Regions from separate parts of the Homo sapiens genome. Here all the other regions are linked to region 1. Evidence: promoter capture Hi-C in 16 types of primary human blood cells and fetal thymus (Javierre and others, 2016). All regions are on one chromosome and are shown on one strand. The core of a region is centred on a gene start or on the middle of the fragment in contact, and the rest is flanking DNA. Distances in the headings are between cores, read along the strand shown.

Region 1 (2,700 bases), core at 111-2,610:
TTACTTTGGAAGAACAAAAATTCTATTACAACCAGTAAAGGAAAAAAATACTCTTTAGTAATAGCATATCGCAGTGGAAAAAAGAGCATATATTCTGGAAACAAATATTCAGCGTTCTTATCCCAATTCAGCCACTTACCAGCTGTGGGACTGTTGGCAAATCACTTAAAATTGTGCCTCGTTTCCACATATATAAAACGGGAATAATAACAGAACCTACCTTACAGGACTATTGTTAAGATTAAATAAGTTAAACAATAAGAAGACTGTAGCCTAGCCAATAGCCTAGTTTAATAAACTTTAGTCATTACTAACCATTATCTCTGTAAAACAAGATGGGAAAAGAATTTGTTACCGGGAGAGAAAAAAAATTCAAGTAATGACGTTTTGTTCTCTAACTTAAGACTATTATTTATTTATTAAGTTATTTATTATGACTATTGACAAGTTATTATGACTATTAAGTTATTTTGTCTACTGAAACCTTCCGATTTCATTAAATTACATTTAGAGTATCTATGGCACAGGCTTAAAGGCGCCTACTTCCATACCTGAATAAAAGCATTTGCTTGCACACACTTTGCATTTTCCACTGTTACTTTGATACCATTTTTAGTTGCGAAACACGTGGCATGTTCTCGGAAATGAATAGCTTTCAAGATAGTGGAGAGATTCCTAACGTTGTCAAGGCTGGCCACAAGGCTGTACTGATCATCCTCGTCTTGGATCTGTTGGGTCAGAAGGGGCATCGTCCACTGCGCATTCGGCCCCGAGGGATGCTCCTGGGGCCAACAACTTCTCGGCGGATCGCCAAACACCTGAAGGGATTAGACAGTAAAACTCCCATCAGTGCTGGCGAGGTCCGGCGAGCTCCACCTGCGCTGAGAGGTGGAAAGGGGCTGGGAGGCTGAACACGGCTGACCAGGCCGAACCCCACCTATGTCACTTAACTATCTTTGTAATTCTGGAGGAAAATTATCTAAGCTACGGTTTCCTCGTCTCCGTAAGAGGACAATAACGTGAAAAGTTGTGAAGAATGAAGACACGCAACTGACACGGTATCTCCCGGCCAAACAGGAGCTACAAATCCGCGGGGAGTCGGTTTTGTGCAGCCCGCGCCACCAGCCCCGCCTCCAACAAAACAGGCGATGGCGGGGCGGGCCCGGAGTGTCCAGATAATCCTCCAAGAGTCCCAGACAACCCCATTCACCAGCCCGCCCGCGGGACAGCATCGCTTACTAGTCTCGGGGTCCCCGAGTGCGGAAACCCTACCTTTGCGGTGGGGTCTGGACGCCCGAGAGCCCTTCTCAGCAAAGTCCCTGAAGAGGAGCGAGGCGGCTCCGAGGAACCGCGGAGGAAGTGAAGCCAGTCCCGCCACTCTTCAGACCGGCCCTCCACCTCGGCCACCGTCACCACAGAGCTGAAGGAGGCCTAGAGAGCCGCGCGTGCCGCGCCACCGAGACCGGAAGGAGGCGGCACAGACCTGGAGGACGACCGCGGAGCTGAGCGCTTAGAGCCGCCGAACCATAGAGATCGGAAATAGGAGCGAGCGGCAGCGCCGGAAAGGAGGCCAAGAGCGCGGGCGGCGAGGCAAGATGGCGGCAACCAAGAGGAAACGGCGTGGAGGCTTTGCAGTTCAGGCGAAGAAGCCAAAAAGAAACGAAATAGATGCGGAGCCGCCAGCTAAGCGGCACGCCACAGCAGAGGAGGTGGAGGAAGAAGAGAGGGACCGGATCCCAGGCCCCGTTTGCAAGGTAGGAGGGGATGTCCCCGGGCTACACCTGCGGCGGCGGCTCTGTGCGCCTTTTCTTGGGTTACTTACTTGACTACAGCCTTGCTTAATTTCAGAGTAGCCCGGGTGTTAACGGTAGGTCGGTTTTAGCAATTCTCCCGGCCAGACTGGGCACGGAGTTTGCAGCTAATCCTTGTGCACGTGGCCGTCTTCCTGGAGGCGGCGGGTTTTAAAACCTTTACCCGGCCCACGGGGAAGCGACTTACAGGGTGCTCAGATCCAGCGTTCTTTCTTACTAGTTGTTCAGTTGTTTTTTTTTTTTAATGTTTTTGGAGAGTAGTGCTTTTCCTTGGTTATTTCTCGCTATTATTTCTCCAGTGATTAGTATGCCCATATACTGCCATAGTCAGCCACTCTCAGTCAGGGATCCTGAAGTACGTTAGGGGAGCCTTTAAAAAGTTGTTGCCCTTGGGACTGTGACTCTGACTTGTTAACCAGGTCATTAACTCAAGAGATACTGAAAAATAGACTAGGTAGTATGAGCTTTACTTGTATTCAACAGACATTGAATGTGCCATGCACTGTACCAAGTTAGGCTTCCTTTGGGTTTGAGATTGCAAAGATGACTAGAATGTGACCTCTTCCTCCTGAAATGTTGGAGTTTAGGAGGAAACTTAAGAATTCAAATAAGTTGATGGTTTTTATTCAAAAGAAGTGCACACAAGTTGTTAGAATTAGCTTTCATTCAACTAAGAACTCTTCTTAAGCTAGACAGAATACTGTGAACAAGGATTATCTTTGACATTAATTTTTGCGTCCTCCGCACTTAGCATAGTACTCTAGCGCGGAGTAGGTGATAAGTAAATGACCCCGTGTGGTGTGATGGCAAGCTCTAAGAAAGAAGTGAGCTCTGTGGAATGAAAGATAAGTGTAAATTCTAGCCCCGTTATTAACAGCAACATTCTGTG
Region 2 (2,700 bases), core at 45-2,544, 260 kb before region 1:
CTTGGCTAAGGAACTTTTGCTGTAGGAAGTGAAGACCCTGCACCTAGTTACAAGGCTTTTGATGCTTGTTTGTCAAGTTCAACTGTTAAAGGGGAGATAGGCTCTTCCCTAGTAGGGAGAGGGAGGAAGGAAAGGGGGATGGGGCGGGGGGAGGGAACAGGTAATATCTGCCATATAAATATTAGTATGTAGCTGACACGTTATAAACTGAGCTGTTAGGGTGAATTTCAATTTTGTTGGAATCGACCTTTTTTCCCTCTTAAGTTCAATTGACTTACAGTAGATCCCAGAAAGAACTCAATACGTTATTTATTCTAGAAAGCTTTCTTCCCTGAGCAAAGGAGGCAGAGCTAACGAGGAGAAGGGAGGAGCTTAGGTGAACAGAACTGAAGTCACAGCTGGTTAGCATGACTAGAATGCATGGAAAAGCCAGCCCAAATTAGATGAGTGGGTAGATAGAGAGCTTTGAAATCCTTGGAATTAATGGTGGAGTCCATCGTAATTGAAAGGTCGGGCCTTAGTGGGCTGGGATAGGGAGAGAAGCTGTCGGGGACCTGGGGCAGTGAGCCTGTACCCCGTGGCTTCTCACACACTATTTTGAAGGCGTTCCCATGCGCAATCTCGCCTGTCAGTTCAGGCTGTAGGTTTCTCCTTTCTAACTCCTGAGCAGAACAACACTGAACGGTGGTAGTCTTGCCTTGCCACCCAATGAGTGCTAGAAAACAGTCACTTCAACCAATTGGTTCAGTCCGGAGAACGTGAGCACATTCTACTTTACTTTCTGTTCAATGATTTTGGAAAACAACCTTTTAGATTCTGGTCAGAAGGGGCTTGGATCCGTGACTTTGAAACACTCGCCACTACCACAAACGACTTTGGAAGTTAATCAGAAATAAACAGTATCTGGGATCTCATCCGTCCTAAACCCAGGGGTCAGAGCGTGGGGGGCTTCCACTAACTTCAGGTTAAGAGGATGAAACAGATCCGCGGAGAAGGGTCCCACGATCCCTGGAGACTAAAAGCAAGCCACGAACAGCCGGGACGCGCGGGCCGGGGAGATGCGCCGGGGGCTGGAGGGCGGAGAGCACCCCCCGCAGGTCCCGGCCAGAGCCCGGGGCCGGGTCACCTGACTCGCGGAATTTGGGGCCGCGAGGGGTGGAATGGGAGGGGAATGGTTAGCGCCTCCCTTCCCGCTCCCACTGGATCCAGGTCGGCGGGGGCCGGCGCCCGGCGGCCACGTGGTGGTGCTGCCGCTGCCCCCGCCCCGCCGGCCTAGCCCGGGAGCTCGGCGCCCACTGACCCCCGCAGCGGGGGAGGAGGAGGGACTGCGGCGCAGGAAGCCGAGCAGGAAGCGAGCCCGGCGGCCGCGTTTTCCTGGGGAAGCGGCGGGCGGGGTGGAGCAGCCAGCTGGGTCCGGGGAGCGCCGCCGCCGCCTCGATGGGGTGAGTGCGCGGCACGGAGTTGGGAGGCTCCCGGCGCGGGGTCCCGGGCTCGTGTCCCCGCCTTTGTGTCTGGAGCTCGGGCGCGGGAGGCGCTGGGGACGGCGCCCGGGCGGAGCGGCTGAGCGGGCTGCAGCCGGGGTCCCGCCACCTCTCCCTGGTCCACCGCCGGCAGCCCACTGTCTGCGGAGAGCAGATCTGGGGACAAGAGGAAGGAGAGGAAGGTGGAGATGAGGGTAGAGCGGGAAGACCCGGCCAAGTTAGGAGAAGGGTTCTTCCCGGGTCCTCCGCGACTCGCAGGCCGGCTGGGGCGGGGCGCGGGGCAGGGGCCGCGGCGGAGGGAGCGCGGGTGGGAATGAATGAGCAGACCCGGAGATGCACCCTGGAGTCTGCGCCGGGTCCCACCTGTTTCGCCCCGCGCGGCGCCTCGCTGCCCCCGCGTCGGTGCTGCTGAGCCCAATCCGCCTCCCGGCTGAACTTGGAGGAGGTGGGGAGGGAGGTGCGAGCGGGAGACTCCGGGTGGCTCCCAGGACGCGGGGTCCGCTATTGTTCCTCCTCTGACTCCAGGGAGCCCCTCGGCCGGCCCAAGGGCGGGGGCGAGACCCCTCTGGGCCTGCCCCTGCCCCCTACCTTGTTTTCCCCGCCGCAGCTCGGGGAGAACGGATGCTGGAGTTGGGGCAGACTCGGGGCCGCCGGGACTTCGGGAGTAAGGAGGACGTGGAGCCACCAGAAAGGCGCCCGCCATCTCCCGCGACCCCTGCCTGGTGGGGGGTGGGGGGTGGGGTGTCGTCCTCAACCACCTTCGCTGCCTTCTTGGGCAGGTTGGTGTCGGTTTAGTTTCTGCGGTTTGCAGGGTTGACATCCTAACTCCTTTGAGTTTCGCATCCCCCTTTTGTGGAGGGGGCTCAGAGCCTGGAGAAGCAACAGACGGGGAATTAAGGCAGATGCAGCCCAGCACAGCGTGGAGGGGTCCGAAGTGGCCTCACGGGGGCCTGAGCATGGCTGTCTTTCCAGGCTCCTCTTTATTTGCCAGGAGCCCAGCTAAGCCCAACTTTACTCCCAGAAATGTTGAGGGGAATCTGCGGACTCGAGGCCCCTCGCCTCGGGACCAGCGGCTTCTCTTCGCCGCAGCTCACGCATGATCGGGGTGGGATTCCGTCTTCCTTCCGGGAGAGGAGAATGCCCAGCTGCCTGGGATGGGGAAACGTTGCCGGATCTCTGGGGAATGTGGTCTCAAGGCTGCAGGGGCCTGGCAGAGAGG
Region 3 (2,700 bases), core at 195-2,694, 390 kb before region 1:
TCCTCTGCCCTCCACCCTAATTCTCTTTCCTCCTGCCCTCCATTCTCCTGATGGAGCCTGGCTCTGATTCTACCTAACAAGAAACCAAGGCAAGGGAGCCAAGGTGATAGGATCCAAGGCTCAGACCAGGGCAGAGAGGAGGTTAGAGCAGGTCCAGTTGTGGTGAAGGAGGGGCGTGGCAAATAGTTTCATCTTTGTGCTTTGTCAACACAAAGACTAAACTAGGTCTGGGTGCGGTGGCTCATGCCTGTGATCCCAGCACTTTGGGAGGCCAAGGCGTGGATCACCTGAGGTCAGGAGTTCAGACCAGCTTGGCCAACACATTTTCCACTTATTTTCACCACAAACAGCTGTATTATCAGCATTATTATTTTTGAACTTTGTCAGTCTTGGTAACATAGAAATATTTACTTATAATTCCTTGGTGAAGTAACAGGAGTGTTGCTGTTACCGGAAAGGGGTCTGGATCCAGACCCCAAGCGAGAGTTCTTGAATCTTGTGCAAGAAAGAATTCAGGGCAAGTCCGTAAAGTGAAAGCAAGTTTATTGGGAAAGTGAAGGAATAAAAGAATGGCTACTCCATAGGCAGAGCAGCCCCGAGGGCTGCTGGTTGTCCATTTTTATGGTTATTTCTTGATGATATGCTAAACAAGGGGTGGATTATTCATGCATCCCCTTTTTAGACCTTATCGGGTAACTTCCTGTCATTGCCATGGCATTTATAAACTGTCATGGCGCTGGTGAGAGTGTAGCAGTGAGGATGGCCAGAGGTCACTCTCGCCACCGTCTTGGTTTCGGTGGGTTTTAGTCGGCTTCTTTACTGCAACCTGTTTTATCAGCAAGGTCTTTATGACCTGTACCTTGTGCTGACCTCCTGTCTCATCCTGTGACTTAGAATGCCTAACTGCCTGGGAATGTAGCCCAGCAGGTCTCAGCCTTATTTCACCCAGCCCCTCTTCAAGATGGAGTTGCTCTGGTTCAAAAGCCTCTGACACTATTGTTCTCAGGTTTTCAGTTATCCTTACCAAGCTTTCTTTCAGAAGCCTCTCTCTCAAGACGCCCTTGTGTCTTGTGACGTGAAATAGGAGGAGAGAAAGTGGAAGAAGCTGGGTGGAGAAAATGAAGGCAGGAGCCCTTCTTCTTACCAATAGAACAACTGTGGTTTAAAAAAAAGGAAATGGAATGAGAACTATGGAGGGAATTTTGCAGATAGGTTCTTAGGCTCTCTGGGACTAATGACATGGAGTGAAGGAAAATGTTTGGTCTTAGAGATGGTAAACAGGTGACTTACACAGAACAAAGAGATGTGATAAAAGAGGAAGTGTTAAGGAATTTGAATTGAGTACTGACAAAGACTGGTACTGTTGTCCTTATGCATTGGGCAAAGTGGGCTGCAGAATTGCTCGACCTTCCAGGTGAAGTTAATGTTGGCCGCTAGGTGGCAATCACATGTCTTCAATAACCGAAGACATCGCAGGCCTGAGTAACTGGCCTTCCTGGTGAGTTTCATCAGTCCATCCACTGTCAGAGAATTATAGTTTCAAAGTCTGCTTGGATGCATTTTAATATTAAATCAATTTGTGAGTGCTCATTATGATTCGTCAAAATCATGGCCCCAAGCAGCTACTGTTTTCAAAGTAAGTGATGTGTGGTTTTCCTTCCACTGTTTGGGTGTTTACACTTAGAGCTTCCTCCTACTTCTTCTCCTTAGGAACTTGACACTATTTCTGCCATAGAAATGATGTTCCAGGCAACTATTTCTTACAAAAACAATAAATAGAACAGGTCTTGGGTCTGAAACAATTGGCCAGCTGAGATTTTGTTTTGTATTCATTTGGTTTTCCTGCTTGGTAGATTTAAACAAAGCTTTCCAACATTTTACTTTCGAAGCAAGATTCACACTGAAAAAACCATGTTACAGCACAATGTTGTAGACGCTAATCTATTCTGATGGATGTGTTTTTTATAGGTCTTCATTTGATTTAATATATATTTAAAACTGAGTTTGTCTGCCTGGTGAGAGATGAAGGAAATACAAATATAATCACTTTACAAAATAAATGCCTAAGATGGGGAACACTCAGCATATAGTGTTTATATATATTCACACACCAAGAAATAATCAAATATAATGATGCCAGCATTGATCGTAGATTTTCATAGCCACATATTTCTTGAGTGGTTTGTGCTAGCAAGGGAGACCCAGAGAGTCAGATGCACTCAAGCTTTTGTAATGAGGTGGTGCAGCATCTTCAATCCCCAGGGTATCTCCTATAACTTTCTACAGGATCTGATGCCATGCTAGAGAGTTGCGAAGCTCTGAATAGCTTTGCTTACATAGAGTGTTGGGTGTTTTGAGATTTATTTTGGAAGAGAAAGGAGAGAAGTTTCTCTGAGACATAGCAGGTCATATGTGGCTGAGCCTACAGCAAGGCCAGTGAAAGTGATTATGAGTCACTCATAGCCTAGGAGTGTGTCCCAACAGATATTTCTGATTTGGCCCCAGGCCACCATCAGACTATGTTGTCTTAAGTTGTCATATCTGGTAACTGCAAAAATAAACCATTTTAGTTGTCATATAAGATATTGTCATGTAAGTATTGACCTCTTCAAATGAATAATCATCTCAAGACCTTCAAACAAGAAGTGGTTCTAAGGTTGCATATAAGCATTACATATCGATGAAAACATTGATCACAGA
Region 4 (2,700 bases), core at 1-2,500, 440 kb before region 1:
GAATCCAGCAGAACATCAAAAAGCTTATCCACCATGATCAAGTCGACTTCATCCCTGGGATGCAAGGCTGGCTCAACATATGAAAATCAATAAACATTATCCATCACATAAACAGAACCAATGACAAAAAACACATGATTATCTTAATAGATGCAGAAAAAGCCTTTGACAAAATTCAACACCCCTTCATGCTAAAAACTCTCAATAAATTAGGCACTGATGGAACGCATCTTAAAATAATAACAGCTATTTATGACAAACCCACAGCCTATATCATACTGAATGGGCAAAAGCTGGAAGCATTCCCTTTGAAAACCAGCACAAGACAAGGATGCCCTCTCTCACCACCCCTTTTCAACATAGTGTTGGAAGTTCTGGCCAGAGCAATCAGTCAACAGAAAGAAATAAAGCGTATCAAATAGGAAGAGAGGAAGTCAAATTGTCTCCGTTTGCAGATGACATGATTGTATATTTAGAAAACCCCATCTTCTCAGCCTAAAAACTTAAGCTGATGAACAACTTCAGCAAAGTCTCAGGATACAAAATCAATGAGCAAAAATCACAAGCATTCCTATACACCAATAACAGACAAACAGAGAGTCAAATCATGAGTGAACTCCCATTCACAATTGCTTCAAAGAGAATAAAATACCTAGGAATACAACTTACAAGGGATGTGAAGGACCTCTTCAAGGAGAACTACAAACCACTGCTCAAGAAAATAAGAGAGAATACAAACAAATGGAAAAAGAATTCCATGTTCATAGATAGGAAGACTCAATATAATGAAAATGGCCATACTGCCCAAAGTAATTTATAGATTCAATGCTATTCCCATCAAGCTACTATTGACTTTCTTCACAGAACTAGATAAAACTGCTTTAAACTTCATATGGAACCAAAAAAGAGCCTGTATAGCCAAGACAATCCTAAGCAAAAAGAACAAAGCTGGAGGCATCATGCTACCTGACTTCAAACTATACTACAAGGCTACAGTAGCCAAAACAGCAACTGGTACTGGTACCAAAACAGAGATGTAGACCAATGGAACAAAACGGAGGCCTCAGAAATAACACCACACATCTACAATTGAGGGACATTCTGGCTATTACTCCTCAAAACTGGCTAAATACCTGGCTATTACTCCTCAAAACTGCTGTCATGAAATCTCTCACAGACTAGAGGAAACTGAGGGAACATGAGGACAGAATGAGATGTGCTGTCCTGAGTGGGATCCTGGAACAGAAAAAGGACATTAGTTGAAAAACTAGTGATATTAAAATACAGTCTGGATTTTGACAATAATGTGGAAATGCTAGTCTCTTAGTTTTGACAAACGTATCATGGTAATGTGAGATTTTAACCTAGAGGAACCTGGGTGAGGTGTGTATGGGAACTCTGTATCACTTTATAACTTTATTTATTTATTATTCATTTATTAATTTTTTTTTGAGACAGAGTCTCACTCTGTTGCCCAGGCTGGAGTGGAGTGGCATGATCTCGGCTCACTGCAACTTCTGTCTCCCAGGTTCCAGCGATTCTCATGCCTCAGCTTCCCAAGTAGCTGGGATTACAGGCCTGGGCTACCACACCCGGTTAATTTATTGTATTTTTAGTAGAGATGGGGTTTCACCATGTTGGCCAGGCTCGAACTCCTGACCTCAGGTGATCTGCCCGCCTCGGCCTCCCAAAGTGCTGGGATACAGGCGTGAGCCACTGCGCCTGGCCACTTTACAACTTTAACATAAATCTAAAATTATTCTGAAATTTAATAAAATTACAATGCTACCCTGTTGCTTCACCTCCCAAATTCTAGCCCGTTTTAGAACTGTTTGTAGGCTGTAGAATCTCTCATATCTGCATTATATTATGTACTATATTTCTGCTATATTGAATTTCTCCGGAGAAGAGCAAAATACAGAATACCAAACCTCTCAAAGCTGTGTGCAAGTGCTGTTACATAGTATGACCACTAGATGGAGATCGTGTCCAGGTGGCTAAAACTTAGGCTTCCTTGACCAAGCAATGTCTTGGAGCAGAGTTCACAACCAAATCTCTTTTCTGAAATAATGCAATAGGCATGAATCTCAAGTCTCCAGATTCTAGGATGTAAGAAATACTAAAGGTCTTTGTTTTCTATAAATCCGCTTGTGTACTACTTCAGGAGCCAAAGAAAATGAAACTTCCGTCCTTCTTGGGGCAATTCTCTCTTCCATTTAACCCCAGGGAAATGAAAGGTGTCAATGTTCAGGGTTTTACCAATGAACTAGGAGCCCCTGCTGGCACTGGTTACCTGTTCTCAATGAGGACCACTGAGATGCTGAGACAGGAGATAGAAAGAAATTATTTAGGCAGATAGTGAGGGTAAAAAAGTCCTCAGCAAGGCTTCCCTTTTAACAAAAAGCAGCCCAAGAAAGCATTTTTTTCTAACAAAGAGCAGCCTGAAAATCTAGCTGCGAACATAGATAAGCAAGCTGGAAGCTTGCACGGGTGAATGCCGGCAGCTATGCCAATAGAAAAGGGCTACCTGGAAGCCAGGTATGTTCAACATGGAGGCTCCATCTTCCCTTTTCTTTGTCACCACGTGTACAGTAAAGAAATAGGCAACATGGCGCTGGCCAGGTAGAGAATTATTTGCATAATAAAAGATTAGCGTGGGGTCAGCAAGCTTTTTGGGCCCTATGCAAATGGCATACCTAG

The links. The method cuts DNA at HindIII sites, captures the fragments that hold promoters and counts their contacts. A CHiCAGO score of 5 or more calls a contact.
Region 2: the fragment with the promoter of RAI14 here is called in contact with the fragment with the promoter of RAD1 in region 1 in 2 of 17 cell types (M2 macrophages and total B cells); the score reaches 6.1 in M2 macrophages.
Region 3: a fragment that was not itself captured here is called in contact with the fragment with the promoter of RAD1 in region 1 in 7 of 17 cell types (erythroblasts, total B cells, M1 macrophages and 4 more); the score reaches 10.7 in erythroblasts.
Region 4: a fragment that was not itself captured here is called in contact with the fragment with the promoter of RAD1 in region 1 in 1 of 17 cell types (M2 macrophages); the score reaches 5.0 in M2 macrophages.

What each region holds. Positions count from the first base shown.
Region 1 is chr5:34,914,144-34,916,843 of GRCh38, forward strand. It overlaps RAD1 (RAD1 checkpoint DNA exonuclease), which reads right to left and starts at 1,361. Exons shown (of 6, transcript NM_002853.4): 1 at 1,273-1,361; 2 at 552-818. The coding sequence starts at 749. BRIX1 (biogenesis of ribosomes BRX1) reads left to right here and starts at 1,568. Exons shown (of 10, transcript NM_018321.4): 1 at 1,568-1,754. The coding sequence starts at 1,596. It also overlaps a transcript of TTC23L not described here. RefSeq lists enhancers at 945-1,550, 997-1,056, 1,077-1,976, 1,551-2,156. The HindIII fragment of the contact is 14,569 bases long and covers 1-2,700 here.
Region 2 is chr5:34,655,034-34,657,733 of GRCh38, forward strand. It overlaps RAI14 (retinoic acid induced 14), which reads left to right and starts at 1,295. Exons shown (of 18, transcript NM_015577.3): 1 at 1,295-1,442. It overlaps RAI14-DT (RAI14 divergent transcript), which reads right to left and starts at 1,140. Exons shown (of 3, transcript NR_183264.1): 1 at 960-1,140. RefSeq lists a silencer at 1,253-1,302. The HindIII fragment of the contact is 8,769 bases long and covers 321-2,700 here.
Region 3 is chr5:34,521,878-34,524,577 of GRCh38, forward strand. No RefSeq gene overlaps it. Among named protein-coding and RNA genes, the nearest start is that of RAI14-DT, 130 kb to the right of the region's middle. RefSeq lists an enhancer at 1,154-1,677. The HindIII fragment of the contact is 837 bases long and covers 1,027-1,863 here.
Region 4 is chr5:34,472,712-34,475,411 of GRCh38, forward strand. No RefSeq gene overlaps it. Among named protein-coding and RNA genes, the nearest start is that of RAI14-DT, 180 kb to the right of the region's middle. The HindIII fragment of the contact is 2,458 bases long and covers 22-2,479 here.